Linked DNA regions of Homo sapiens: regions 1, 2, 3 and 5 are each linked to region 4. The links are contacts of gene promoters, found by promoter capture Hi-C in human tissues and cell types (Jung and others, 2019). All regions are on one chromosome and are shown on one strand. The core of a region is centred on a gene start or on the middle of the fragment in contact, and the rest is flanking DNA. Distances in the headings are between cores, read along the strand shown.

Evidence for each region. Contacts are between HindIII fragments. The study calls those that stand out against the background at their distance.
Region 1: a contact is called between the fragment with the promoter of USE1 here and the fragment with the promoter of COLGALT1 in region 4, in 1 of the 25 tissues and cell types used here (spleen).
Region 2: a contact is called between a fragment that was not itself captured here and the fragment with the promoter of COLGALT1 in region 4, in 4 of the 25 tissues and cell types used here (IMR-90 fibroblasts, liver, lymphoblastoid cells and 1 more).
Region 3: a contact is called between the fragment with the promoter of ARRDC2 here and the fragment with the promoter of COLGALT1 in region 4, in 2 of the 25 tissues and cell types used here (lymphoblastoid cells and mesendoderm cells).
Region 5: the fragment with the promoter of SLC5A5 here is called in contact with the fragment with the promoter of COLGALT1 in region 4 in 3 of the 25 tissues and cell types used here (IMR-90 fibroblasts, adrenal gland and lymphoblastoid cells).

Annotation. Positions count from the first base shown.
Region 1 is chr19:17,213,949-17,216,648 of GRCh38, forward strand. It overlaps USE1 (unconventional SNARE in the ER 1), which reads left to right and starts at 1,409. Exons shown (of 8, transcript NM_018467.4): 1 at 1,409-1,559; 2 at 1,854-1,903; 3 at 2,044-2,122; 4 at 2,221-2,373. The coding sequence starts at 1,458. RefSeq lists enhancers at 1,049-1,629, 1,393-1,712 and a silencer at 1,733-1,802. The HindIII fragment of the contact is 58,541 bases long and covers 1-2,700 here.
Region 2 is chr19:17,909,409-17,912,108 of GRCh38, forward strand. No RefSeq gene overlaps it. Among named protein-coding and RNA genes, the nearest start is that of CCDC124, 22 kb to the right of the region's middle. The HindIII fragment of the contact is 5,842 bases long and covers 1-2,700 here.
Region 3 is chr19:18,006,721-18,009,519 of GRCh38, forward strand. It overlaps ARRDC2 (arrestin domain containing 2), which reads left to right and starts at 1,450. Exons shown (of 8, transcript NM_015683.2): 1 at 1,450-1,864; 2 at 1,991-2,057; 3 at 2,251-2,398. The coding sequence starts at 1,591. RefSeq lists an enhancer at 1,504-1,723. The HindIII fragment of the contact is 21,109 bases long and covers 1-2,635 here.
Region 4 is chr19:17,554,251-17,557,013 of GRCh38, forward strand. COLGALT1 (collagen beta(1-O)galactosyltransferase 1) reads left to right here and starts at 1,399. Exons shown (of 12, transcript NM_024656.4): 1 at 1,399-1,723. The coding sequence starts at 1,464. It also overlaps a transcript of NIBAN3 not described here. RefSeq lists a silencer at 1,477-1,566. The HindIII fragment of the contact is 12,267 bases long and covers 1-2,763 here.
Region 5 is chr19:17,870,685-17,873,384 of GRCh38, forward strand. SLC5A5 (solute carrier family 5 member 5) reads left to right here and starts at 1,261. Exons shown (of 15, transcript NM_000453.3): 1 at 1,261-1,992. The coding sequence starts at 1,636. The HindIII fragment of the contact is 15,663 bases long and covers 1-2,700 here.

The DNA.
Region 1 (2,700 bases), core at 159-2,658, 340 kb before region 4:
AGTAGCTGGGATTACAGGCACGCACAACCAAGCCCAGCTAATTTTTGTGTTTTTTGATAGAGACAGGGTTTCACCATGTTGGCCAGGCTGCTCTCCAAACTCCTGACCTCCAGTGATCCATCCACCTCACCCTCCCAAAGTGCTGGGATTACAGGCGTGAGCCACCGCACCTGGCCCTCCATGGTATTTTCTTTTTTTTTTTTTTTTTTTGAGACGGAGTCTTGCTTTGTTGCCCAAGCTGGAGTGCAGTGGCACAATCTCGGCTCACTGCAACATCCACCTCCTGGGTTCAAGCGATTCTCCTGCCTCAGTCTCCCAAGTAGCTGGGATTACAGGCACCCACCATCACGCCCGGCTAATTTTTGTATTTTTAGTAGAGACGGGGTTTCACCATGTTGGCCAGGCTGGTCTCAAACTCCTGACCTCAGGTGATCCATCTGCCTCAGCCTCCCTAAGTGCTGGGATTACAGGTGTGAGCCACCGCACCTACCCGTCTATGATATTTTTCAAGGACATCAGGCCCACTGGTGTAACCAAGGTGCAGATGACCTAAGGTGTGGGAAAACATGAAGGCTGCATGCCAGGCCCTGGTTCCTGTGAAGCCCCCACCCTCATCCTGTCACTCCAGAAGAGAGGCACTGCAAGGCATAGGGGTACTCAGCTTCCAGGTACTGAGGTGGGCTGGGAAGGGGTTCTCCATGGGGGTCTGGGCGTTAGGGGGGACCCAGCCCCACCTTGCTCACTCTCAGGCAGAGCTGTCTCATGTGCCCCTTGAGGCAGGTACTGTCACACTGTCCATTTCCCGGGGGAAGAAGCGGATCCAGAAAAGTTAAACTCTCCCAGGGCCGAGGATGGAATCAGAGCTGGAGCTGTGACCTGGAAACCCATAACCACAATACAGATGAGCCCTGCTGAGGTGGGGGAAGCCTTGGATTCCTGAATCCCAGGCTACAGAAATCGGGAAGGGTGTGTGGACGTGAAATAGCTCCGACTGGGAAGAATCCAGGTAGGAGTGGGGTGCGGGGAGGTACTTTGAGCAGGCAAAACAGAACAAAAGGGCACACTGCACGCGGGTCTGACACCAGAAGACCCCGGTCGTCCTATCATTCCCGAAGGGTTAACATGCTCTCGAGGAAAAGCAAGTGATTCGCCTAAGTAAGAATGGGGTGGCGCCTCTCCTATTTTTTTAAAATAGAGATAGAGTAGCGCTATCTTGCCCGGGCTGGCCTCAAGCAATCCTTTCCCACCTCTGCCTCCTAAAATGCTGGCATTACAGCCCTGAGCCACCGCGCCCGGCCCAGCGCCCCGTCTCAAAACAAGATATTACTTCCGCTCCAAACAAAGATGGGCCAGCTAACGAGCGCGGGGGAAACATCCGCCCGGAAGGCCACTTGAAGGCACTTCCGCCCTCTCTTAACATGGAGCCGGCGGAAGGGGTGGTGTAGGGCCGGGCGATAATGGCGGCGTCGAGGCTGGAGCTAAACCTGGTGCGGCTGCTATCCCGCTGCGAGGCGATGGCAGCGGAGAAACGGGACCCGGACGAGTGGCGCCTGGAGAAGGTGAGGGGATCTCGCACTGCCGCGTAGAGCCCGACTCCCGGGGGGTGATTCCTAGGGTTGGAAGCCACCTGGCCCGACTCCCCGGCCCCAGTAGCCTCTCGGGCAGCGCCCTTTCCGGTCAGTCCCGCCACGTCCACCTGTAGCTTCCGCCCCCGTCCCTGGGACTCCGCCCCTCCCCCACTGGCCCCGCCTCCTTTACGCTTGACCCCTCCCATTTGTCGGCCCCGCCCCCCCGACTCCCATGATCAGGACATGGGAAAGACCCCCGGGTGACAATCCACTTTTCCTCCCCAGTACGTGGGAGCCCTAGAGGACATGTTGCAGGCCCTGAAGGTCCACGCGAGGTGAGTGCAGGCAGCCTCAGGGCTTTCACATCAGCACGTGGCTGTGCTACTGGACATCCCAGTACCGCTATCCCAGCTGGGACCCTTCCCTGAGCTGGGGACCATGGACAGGTTTTGTTTTTCTTCTTCCTGCCTTCCAGCAAACCGGCCTCTGAGGTGATCAATGAATATTCCTGGAAGGTGGATTTTCTGAAGGGGATGCTGCAAGCCGAGAAGCTGGTGAGAAGGGGTGCCCCTGCCCCCTCAGCCCCCATCACCGCTCACTTTGGTCCCCAGGACCTGCCCCTCCAGTGACTTATCTTCCCACATTTCTGCAGACCTCCTCCTCAGAGAAAGCACTGGCCAACCAGTTCCTGGCCCCTGGCCGTGTGCCAACCACAGCCAGAGAGCGAGTGCCCGCCACAAAGACGGTGCATCTGCAGTCACGGGCGCGGTACACCAGCGAGATGCGGAGTGAGCTACTAGGCACGGTAGGGCTCCTTCCCTGGTCCCTGGGAATCCCTTGGACAGGAATAGGGGTTCTATGCTTGTAGGCAGCCAGAACCACAATACTGTCAGATACAGGAACCCTAAGGGGGTCCAGCAATCTCTTCCCTGGGTCATCACACAAGGCTGCCCAACAGAGGGGCATTGTGGCTAAGGCTTTGCTAGATGAATAGGAATTTGGTACAAGGCAAAAATGGAATGTGTCTGGTTAAGCCCCAGAGTTGGCCCAAGAGCAGGGTTTGAGTCCTGGCTTGCAACTTACAAGACACATAAGTTTCTTCAGCCGTAAAAGAGGATGACAAGTTCCTTTC
Region 2 (2,700 bases), core at 48-2,547, 360 kb after region 4:
GGCCCCTCCCCTTCAGGTCCACAGGCTTGTCTCTGTCTCCCCTGCTGATCTTGGTATCTGTAGCTTAAGCCAATACTGAGGCCCTGAATTCCTATTCTTTCTGGTACAGCGGGAGAGTTGTCAAGAAGCCAGGTGGAGCAGAAGACAAGACCAGGCAGGAAGCAGGTAAGTTTCCACTGGAATGACTCCACTTGCCTCCTACCGAGGCCCAGGGCTGTGTCAGCTTCAGGTGCAGCTGGCTCCAGGCCCACCTGGGGCACAGCACGGCAAGGATGGAAGGTCTCCCCTACATCCTATTCTCCCCAGAGCCAGGTCTGAGACGGGCTGGGATTGAGGATCATCCCAAAACTGGTGGCTCTCAGGAGGTAGCTCACCTCATGCCACCTACCCCACCAAGATGGAATCTTTTTTTTTTTTTTTTTTTGAGACAGACTCTTGCTCTGTCACCCAGGCTGGAGTGCAGTAGCATATTCTTGGCTCACTGCAACCTCCGTCTCCCGGGTTCAAGCGATTCTCCTGCCTCAGCCTCCCGAGTAGCTGGGATTACAGGCACCCGCCACCACACCCAGCTAATTTTCATATTTTTAGTAGAGACAAGGTTTCGCCATGTTGGCCAGTCTGGTCTTGAACTCCTGACCTCAAGTGATCTGCCCACCTAGGCCTTCCAAAATGCTGGGATTATAGGCGTGAGCCACCACTCCTGGCCTAAGGATGGAATCTTGATGAAATTGCTGTGTGGCCTGCAGCCAGTCGCTGCCCCTCTCTGGGTCATCCACGTTGCTTTCTCCAAGTCCTGACCTGGCAATGGATTGTTCAAGGAGCTGGTCAAATCCACAGTTGCCCCAGCAATGCAGAGCCCTCAAACATGAAAAAAAAAAATCTAGACAGAAAGATTTTTTTTTTTCTTAGAAAAATGAGCCAGGTGCAGTGCCTCACGCCTGTAATCCCACCACTTTGGGAGGTGGGGCGATCATCTGAGCCCAGGAGTTTGAGACCAGCCTGGGCAACATGGTGAAACTGCATCTCTACAAAAAATACAAATATTAGCCTGGTATGGTGATGCATGCCTGTGGTCCCAGCTACACAGGAGGCTGAGGTGGGAGGATCGCCCGAGCCTGGGAAGTTGAGGCTGCAGTGAGTTGTGATCATGCTACTGCACTTCAGCCTGGGTGATGGGAGTGAGACCCTGCCTCAAAAATCTAAAAAAAGAAAAAAAAAGAATATTAGATTACAAAATTCACATTACTGTGGAAATTGCTTTTGCCCTTCCAAAACAAATCATAAAACATGTTTCCTGGTGAATACATACAAATCTTACTAAATCTTCTTTTGAATACATATAAATCTTATTAAATCTTCTTTTAATTTATTTTTTTAAATTTGGCTTTTCTTTTTTCTTTTTAATCACAAAATAATTTCAAGAGCCAATTTGTCCTGGAGGCCTTGTTATGAAAATCTGCAGACCCCTGCGGCTCTCATGTTTGACGAAATCAAGAAAAACATTAACACAATCGTTGCAGAAGGGTGACCAATGCGGTTGCTTTGCGGCTGAGTATTGGTTTTATTTCAAAACACAATGTAAGAGGAACAAACAAAACACACATCCCACTCAACACCACACTTCTGACACCAGATGTGTGGGTTGTCTTTATTTTTTCCACATAGTAAGCAATTCTCCAGTGGACACCAGCTGGGATTCCTCTGATGCAATTTGGTTCCGATGCTATCTACTCGGACACAGCATCAGATCCCGCAGGTTAAGGGCTCAATCCCACAAAACAGCCCGCCTTGAGACACAATGGTCTCTATAGAGTGGGATACCCCACCCTTGCAACCTGCAGATGTGTTCATCAACTCGGAAGCTCTTCAAACCCCATCTTTTGGGGATTTTTATGGGGGCTTCATTATGAAGGCATGATTGATTATTAACTCAGTCCCTAGCCCCTCTCCGGTCTCCAGAGAAAGAGGGTGGGGCTGAAAGCTCCAAGCTTCTAATGATGGCTTGGTCTTGTTGGTCCCCACCCAGGAACCCACCAAGAGTCATCTTTTTAGAACCAAAGACGCTCCTATCACCCAGGAAACTCTAGGGGATTTAGGAGCTCTATGTCAGACACTCCCATCACTCTGTCAGGAACTGGGGTCAAAAGACCAAATATTTATTTATTTATTTATTTATTATTATTTTGAGACGGAGTCTCGTTCTGTTGTCAGGCTGGAGCGCAGTGGTGCGATCTCAGCTCACTGCAGCCTCCGCCTCCTGGGTTCAAGCGATTCTCCTGCCTCAGCCTACCGAGTAGCTGGGACTACAGGTGTGCGCCACAGGCCTGGCTAATGTTTGTATTTTTAGTAGAGATGAGGTTTTGTTATGTTGGCCACCCTGGTCTCAAACTCCTGGCCTCAAGTGATCTGCCCACTTCCACCTCCCAAAGTGCTGGGATTACAGGCATGAGCCACCCTGCCCAGACTATTTATTTTTATTTTTAAACTTTTCTTTAGAAAAAGAATCTTGCTGTGTTGCCCAGGGTGGAGTGCAGTGGGGAGATGTTGATTCACTGCAGCCTCAAACTCTCAGGCTCAATCAATCCTCCCACCTCAGCCTCCCGAGTAGCTGGGACTATAGGCACACACCACCATGCCCAGCTAATTTTTTATCTTTTGTAGAGACAGCAACTCACTAAGTTGCCCAGGCTGGTCTTGAAC
Region 3 (2,799 bases), core at 200-2,699, 450 kb after region 4:
GTGGAGGTGCTGTGTGACCTCGGGCAGAGCCCCACCCATCTCTGGGCCTTTGGGGTCCGTCTGCGAAATGAATTGAGGGAGGCGCTGGCTCAGTAGTCCCTTCAGGGTTACCTAATCCCGCTTCTCCTCCCGGACTTAACGGCCTACTGTCTCCCCTCTAGTATCCATTGAAACCTGGCCTAAGGTCCCAGACCTTCCTTTCAACTCCAAAGACCCATCCTCCCAGGCAGCCTTCCAGGCTGATCACTGTGCCTCCAACTCCGTCGTTCCTGTTCCGATCCCCATCACGGGCTGAGGGTGACCGTGTTTGTTTATGACCGCCCCCTCCACCCACACACCTCACTGAGGTGGTGGAAGTCTCCTGAGCCAGGCTCAGAGGCGGACAGTCACGGCAGGGGATGGGTTCAGCGGCAGCGCATTACGCTGCCACGAGAGGGCGCCAGCGTCCCGCAGACGACGCAGAGGCAACTCCCGCTGGAGAAACTCCATGCGACTTTTCTTTGGGGAAACTGAAGCCCAGAGAGAGGTCACGCCGTCCCGTGGCCACACCGCAGCTGTGGACCTGGGGGTGCCCGAGCGTCCCCTGCATTCAGCTCTGTGGCGGGACGGGGGCTGAGGATGACTGGAGCAGGCACAAGGGCTGCGGGGAAGGTAGGGTTTGCCAGAGGCTGAAAATTGGGAAGGGAACATCATTTCGTAGGTACCGCTCCTGGGCGAATGCGCCGAGGCGCGACCGAGTGACGGTATGTCAAGAGCAGGTTGATGACCCGGGAGCGAGGCTCTTGGAGGAGTCCAGCTGGGGCTGCACGATGATCCATGCACAACCTTCTGAGGTCAGGACTGATTTTTACTTTCTCCCGGCTCTACAGAGGTGGAAACTGAGGCTCCAAGAGGTTGTCATTTGCCCAGAGCCACCAGCTAAGCGGGACTTGAATCAGGAAAGGGGTGCAGCAGGCACCAGTGTGGAGGGCGGTCCCACCCACCTCCTCCACTTCTCCCTTTGCATAGCGGGGGAAACAGGCCTGGAACAGTCATAGGCTCTCTGGCCCTCAACTGGGGCGAGAGTCCCCCGCCCCAAATCGGGCTGGACATGCCTCGAGTCACGTCAACGAGGGGCGGCTGGTGAGTGATTAAGCCGAGAGGCTGAAGGCTCTGCTAGGTGACCTCAGGCCTGGGCCCTGCCTCTGCACCTCTTTTTTTCCTCTTTACCCCCGGGGTCCGCGAGAGACCAGCTCTGGCAGCCTAAGGGCTTCAGTTTCTCCCCGGGGTCCGCGAGGGAAGGGGGCAGCCGGCGGTGAGCAGGGGCGTTTGTTATTTTGCTCCACGCCTGGGCAGAGCCACGCCCCTTGTCGCGCTATTGGTGGAGTCCCTTCCCGGGGCGGGGAAGAGACGGTGACCCCACCCCCCCCCGCCCTGCCGTATAAAAGCGGCGCCGACGCACGGCGCGGGGATTTTCTGCTCCGGTTGGTGAGCGCGCCTGCGCGTTGACGGCGATTTTGCGTTCTGAGGCTGCAGCGTCGGCATCTTGAGCTGCCGGTTCGCGAGTTCGAGGCCAGGTTCCGCCTGTCGTGGGTTCGCACCCCGGACGCGATGCTATTCGACAAGGTGAAAGCGTTCTCGGTGCAGTTGGACGGCGCGACCGCGGGCGTCGAGCCCGTGTTTAGCGGCGGCCAGGCCGTGGCGGGCCGGGTGCTGCTGGAGCTGTCAAGCGCCGCGCGTGTGGGTGCCCTGAGGCTGCGCGCGCGGGGCCGCGCCCACGTGCACTGGACCGAGTCGCGCAGCGCGGGCTCGAGCACGGCTTACACGCAGAGCTACAGTGAACGCGTGGAGGTCGTGAGCCACCGCGCCACGCTCCTGGCGCCAGGTACGGATGGAGGACCCCTGCTCCAACACCAGTTGTGTGCCTCCCACCACCTGGACGGCGGTACCTCCGTCAGCCCTGGGACCCCAGCGCAACCGCTCAGTCGCCTCCTTTTTCTCCTACCTGCAGATACCGGGGAGACCACGACGCTGCCTCCTGGGCGCCATGAGTTCCTGTTCAGCTTCCAGCTGCCCCCGTAAGTCCTCTGGGGTGCAGGGTTGCCCTAAGCCTGCAGCCCCTTCCAGATTGGTACCTCCAATACTGGATATCTGGGCACCTCTGAGCCCCAAGACTCTCCCCCTGGGAGGCCCCCGGAGTGTCTGTGTCTCCTTCTCCCTGCCTGCTTGTCTCTGTATCTTGTCCCCTGAAGTCCCGTCCCTCCACCCTAGGACCCTGGTGACATCCTTCGAGGGCAAACACGGTAGTGTCCGCTACTGTATCAAGGCCACCCTGCACCGGCCCTGGGTCCCAGCACGCCGGGCAAGGAAGGTGTTCACTGTCATCGAGCCTGTGGACATCAACACGCCAGCCCTGCTGGTGAGTGGCCACCCTTGGGGAGGTAGGTTGGGAGTATTGTAGGAAGGGGCCTGCCTGGCTGCTGGGCGACACCAACCAATAAGATGGAGGTCATAGGTGGGCCCTGGCAGGGAGGGAGGCAGGTGTGGGAATGCGTGTGGAATCCACTGGGATCTGCACCCATTTGCCGTGTGACTCTGGGCAAGTGTCTTGAAGCCCTCTCTGAGCCTCAGATGCCTCTTCTGTGAAATAGACCAGAGCTAGGGCTTACCAAGTGTGAATTACACACCAAACACTTGGCTTATACATTTCATTTCTGGCTTTATAAGATGGGTTGTGTTCCTGGCTCTATTTAACGGATAGTTCCTGGATTGTTAAAAAGAAACCAAGCCCTGCCCAAAGTCCTCCCTCAGCTGGGGGTG
Region 4 (2,763 bases), core at 149-2,648:
GGGAGGATTACTTGAGACCAGGAGTTTGAGAACAGCCGGGGCAACATAGCGAGACTCCATCTCTACAAAAAATTTAAAAATTAGCTGGGCGTGGTTGAGTGCACTTGTAGTCCCAGCTACTTGGGAGGCTGAGGCAGGAGGATCAGTTGAGCCCAGGAGGTTGAGGCTGCAGTGAGCCATGATCATGTGATCATGCCACTGCACTCTAGCCTGAGCCACAGAGTAAGACCCTCTCTGTGAAAATAATAATAAGCTGGGCGCGGTGGCTCACGCCTGTAATCCCAGCACTTTGGGAGGCTGAGGTGGGCGGATCAGGAGGTCAGGAGTTCGAGACCAGCCTGGCCAATATGGTGAAACCCCATCTCTACTATAAACAAAAATTAGCCGGGCGTGGTGGCGCGTGCCTGTAGTCCCAGCTACTCAGGAGGCTGAAGCAGGAGAATCGCTTGAACCCGGGAGGCGGAGGTTGCAGTGAGCCGAGATCGCGCCACTGTACTCTAGCCGGGGCAATGGAGTGAGACGCTGTCTCAAAAAAAAAAAAAAAGAAAATAATAATAATAATAATAATAATGTTCAGATGTATTTTTTAAAGTTTTTATTGTTTTTAAAAATAGAGGCACGGTCTTGCTATGTTGCACCACTGCACTCCAGCCCGGGCAACAAAGCCAGACTCCGTCTCAAAAAAAAAAAAAAAAAAGTGTGATACTAAGTCAATCAATTTGAAAATGCGGCTCTAGAGTATTGGAAAACAATCCCTTGACAGCGTTTCCATGAAAACATGGCCCTTGTCTCTGGAAGAGCTTGTGCCCAGAACGGTCCATTATCATGCCCTGGCTCTATTTTCACGCCAACCCTATAGGGTCTCTATGATCTCATTTTATAGATGGACAGACTGAGGCTCACATATAGCAAGCCCAAGGCGGGGACTGAATGTGACGCCAGGTCTGTGGACGTCATGACCTTTATTCTCCACAACCCTCAATGACATCCCTGTGAGATCCAAAACCAGGATGGCAAAACCCACGTTGCAGCAGAGGAAACTGAGGCTAAGGTCTCTTGGGTCCCAAACCAGGTCCTAAGTAGCCAAGTCCGCCTGGTGGCACAGCCCGGGTTTTATACATGGGGAAATTGGGCGGCGCATCTGGCGGAGGTCTCAGTGGTAGGAGGCGCCTGGAGGAAGCGCGGGTTCCTAACCCTAACGCTACCCCTAACATCCCTTCCACGCGCTCCGAGCGCTATGTGCCTTTAAGATCGGTGCGGGGGCGGGGCGTCCTGGGTAGGGCTGCAGGTGACGTCACTCCGGGCCTTGGGACTCGGAGAGCGTCTGGAGGCGGGGCCTGGACTTCACGCCCGGCGCGCTCCTCCCCTTTAAGGCGCGCGGCCGGGCGGGGCCCCTATGACCCCTTTAAGGCGCGGCCAGAGTCCTCCCGCAGAAAAACGACTTAAAGGAGACGCGTGGCGCGATGGCGGCGGCCCCACGCGCGGGCCGGCGGCGCGGGCAGCCGCTCCTGGCGCTGCTGCTTCTGCTGCTGGCGCCACTGCCGCCGGGGGCCCCGCCGGGCGCCGACGCCTACTTCCCCGAGGAGCGCTGGAGCCCGGAGTCGCCCCTGCAGGCGCCGCGCGTGCTCATCGCGCTGTTGGCGCGAAACGCGGCCCACGCGTTGCCCACCACGCTGGGCGCACTCGAGCGGCTGCGGCACCCGCGGGAGCGCACGGCGCTATGGTGAGTCGAGCCCGCTGTCCCCATCAGGCGGGTCACGCGAGCCCCTGCTTGCTGTCCCCATAGGGGTGGGTCCACGCGAGCCCCTGCCCGCTGTCCTCTTCTGGGCGGGTCCGCGCGTGCTTCCTGCTCGCTACCCCCATCGGGACGGTTCTACGCATGCCCCTGCCCGCTGCCCCCATCGGGACGGGTCCACGCGTGCCCCCTGCCTGCTGTCCTCCCATGGGGCCAGACACAGCCCTCCCCACAACACAAGCGGGACCGAGTTCCTCCTGCTGGCTCCTTTGGGGTGGGCTGGGCACCGCTTCTGCCTGCTGGACCCTACTAGGGCAGCTCCGGCCTCACTAACTGGGGCTCTAACTCCCTCTGGGGCACGTACACCTCCAAAGGACGGAGCCCAGAGCCCCCACTGGGGCGTTGCCAGAGGCCACATCTAACAGCAAGCCTTTCTGTGCCGGCTGCTGCCCTTAAGCTTGAACTCAGCCTGGCTCCAGGCCCCAGTCAAACCCCTGCCCTCAGACCGGCGTGGGTGGAGTCCAGGACCAGATGGCCCAGGAGGAAGTGGATGCTTTCTTGGTAGGGAATGGGGCAGAGCTCTGAAGAAACCTTTGACTGGTGACTTCTCACTCCCTGCCTCAGTTTTCTCAAATGGAAAATGGGTCCGGGTGCAGTGGCTCACGCAGTAATCCTAGCAATTTGGGAGGCCAAGGTAAGCGGGTCACTTGAGCTCAGGAGTTCGACACCAGCCTTGCCAACATGGCAAAACCCCGTCTCTAGAAAAAAAATACAAAAATTAGCCAGGTGCGGTGGTGTGTGCCTGTAGTCCCAGCTATTCAGGAGGCTGACGCAGGAGAATCGCTTGAGCCCAGGAGTTCGAGGCTGCAGTGACCTATGATTGCACCACTGCACTCCAGCCTGGGCTACAGAGTAAGACCTGCCTCTAAAAAAAGAAAAAGAAAAGAAAATGAGCGTATTAATATAATTCTCTTTTTGGGTTTGTCTCTGAAGATTATCCAGTTAATGGATGTGGAGCCCTTGGGTCT
Region 5 (2,700 bases), core at 11-2,510, 320 kb after region 4:
TTTCATACAGACAAGATCTCACTATGTTGCTCAGGGTAGTCTCGAATTCTGGGACTCAAATGATCCTCCCACTTCAGCCTCCCAAAGTGCTGGGATTACAGGCATAAGCCATCATGCCCGGCCTCTGACGCTGTTTCTTTCAACCCCCAGGATTTCAGATTCCACCAGCTTATGGAGAAGGGAACCAAGTTTGAGATGCGTGATTGCCCAGAAAGTTGGAGGCTGAGCTGAGACTTGAACCCAGAGACCAGAACCTCCAGAGGTCAAAGTCCTCCTGGGTCCCCCAGAGAAGGGCCCTGAGATGACAGCTCGTTGGTCCTCATGGAAGCGTGACCCCCCCAGTAGACTTTCTCCCACACCCAACCTTGGTTTCCTCATCTATATGATAGGGACAAGCCAGACTCTACCTCCCTGGTGGTCATGGTCTCCGCTTATTCGGGTTCATAACCTTAAAGGCCCCTCGCACCACCTCAGTGAGCCATTTATGCCTGGCACAGGGCCAACTCTCAGTGCATATCTGCAAAGGAACCAATGAATGAATGAATGAAGTGACAAATGAATAAAGGAATAAATGAATGAGGCACTTATCATGTACCAGGCTTTCGTTACCACGTCCCATTTATTCCTCTGAGGCAGGGTCTATTTTATCCTTGTTACAGATGGGGAAACTAAGGCCCAGGGAGGAGCAAAGTCTTCCCCAAGTATGTACCCACTCAGAACTTGAGCTCTGAATGTCTCCCACCCAGCTTAGCCCAAGAGCGGGGTTCAGTGATGCCCACCCCCTAAGGCTCTAGAGAAAGGGGGTAGGCCCACATGCCAGTTTGGGGGTGGTAAAGCCAGGTAAGTTTTCTTTATGGGTCCCCTGAAACCCTGAAAGTGAACCCCAGTCCTGCATGAAAGTGAGCTCCCCATAGCTCAAGGTATTCAAGCACAATACGGCTTTGAGTGCTGAAGCAGGCTGTGCAGGCTTGGATAGTGACATGCCCTCTCTGAGCCTCAATTTCCCCACCTGTCAACAGCAGACAGTGACAGCTGTGATCAGGGGATCACAGTGCATGGGGATGGGTGGGTGCATGGGGATGGAGGGGCATTTGGGAGCCCTCCCCGATACCACCCCCTGCAGCCACCCAGATAGCCTGTCCTGGCCTGTCTGTCCCAGTCCAGGGCTGAAAGGGTGCGGGTCCTGCCCGCCCCTAGGTCTGGAGGCGGAGTCGCGGTGACCCGGGAGCCCAATAAATCTGCAACCCACAATCACGAGCTGCTCCCGTAAGCCCCAAGGCGACCTCCAGCTGTCAGCGCTGAGCACAGCGCCCAGGGAGAGGGACAGACAGCCGGCTGCATGGGACAGCGGAACCCAGAGTGAGAGGGGAGGTGGCAGGACAGACAGACAGCAGGGGCGGACGCAGAGACAGACAGCGGGGACAGGGAGGCCGACACGGACATCGACAGCCCATAGATTCCTAACCCAGGGAGCCCCGGCCCCTCTCGCCGCTTCCCACCCCAGACGGAGCGGGGACAGGCTGCCGAGCATCCTCCCACCCGCCCTCCCCGTCCTGCCTCCTCGGCCCCTGCCAGCTTCCCCCGCTTGAGCACGCAGGGCGTCCGAGGACGCGCTGGGCCTCCGCACCCGCCCTCATGGAGGCCGTGGAGACCGGGGAACGGCCCACCTTCGGAGCCTGGGACTACGGGGTCTTTGCCCTCATGCTCCTGGTGTCCACTGGCATCGGGCTGTGGGTCGGGCTGGCTCGGGGCGGGCAGCGCAGCGCTGAGGACTTCTTCACCGGGGGCCGGCGCCTGGCGGCCCTGCCCGTGGGCCTGTCGCTGTCTGCCAGCTTCATGTCGGCCGTGCAGGTGCTGGGCGTGCCGTCGGAGGCCTATCGCTATGGCCTCAAGTTCCTCTGGATGTGCCTGGGCCAGCTTCTGAACTCGGTCCTCACCGCCCTGCTCTTCATGCCCGTCTTCTACCGCCTGGGCCTCACCAGCACCTACGAGGTACCGGACAGAGGCCCGGGGGTAGGACCTGCCCCACTGGCAGTGCTGGGACCCCGTGTGGGGGAGGCGCTGGGGCTTTGGGCCGCTGTACAGGAGGACGCGGATGGCACCTCGGTGCTTTAACGGAAGGGGCCCCTAGGCAGACACGTGGGGAGGGTTCTAGGAAGAGGCCCCAGGCGCCCGGCGAGGGGCAGGAAGGAGGAAGAGAGAGCCTGGCGTCCTGCTCCTTCGGTGGAAGCGCGCGCGGGGCGGGGCCCGGCTCGACCAGGTGTGTCCTCACGGGTGGACACACACCTGCCCCCCACCTGCCCGGGCGTGCAGACCCACGTGTGCGCGCTAGAGGGGACTGCTGACGGCTCCGGGGTTCGAAACCTGGCTTCACTGCTTTCTTGTATCTTGGGCAAGGGGCGTGCCTCTCTGTTTGGGTTTCCCAGCTGTCCAATGGGCGAATTACAGGACCTCCCTCCAGGGGAGAGGGTAAAGCGATTAAAATCGTGACCGGGGCCCGGTGCGGTGGCTCACGCCTGTAATCCCAGCACTTTGGGAGGCCAAAGCATGCAGATCACCTGAGGTCAGGAGTTCAAGACCAGCCTGGCCAACATGGCGAAACCCCGTCTCTACTAAAAATACAAAAATTAGCCGGATGTGGTGGTGGGCACCTGTAATCCCAGCTACTTGGGAGGCTAAGACAGGAGAATTGCTTGAACC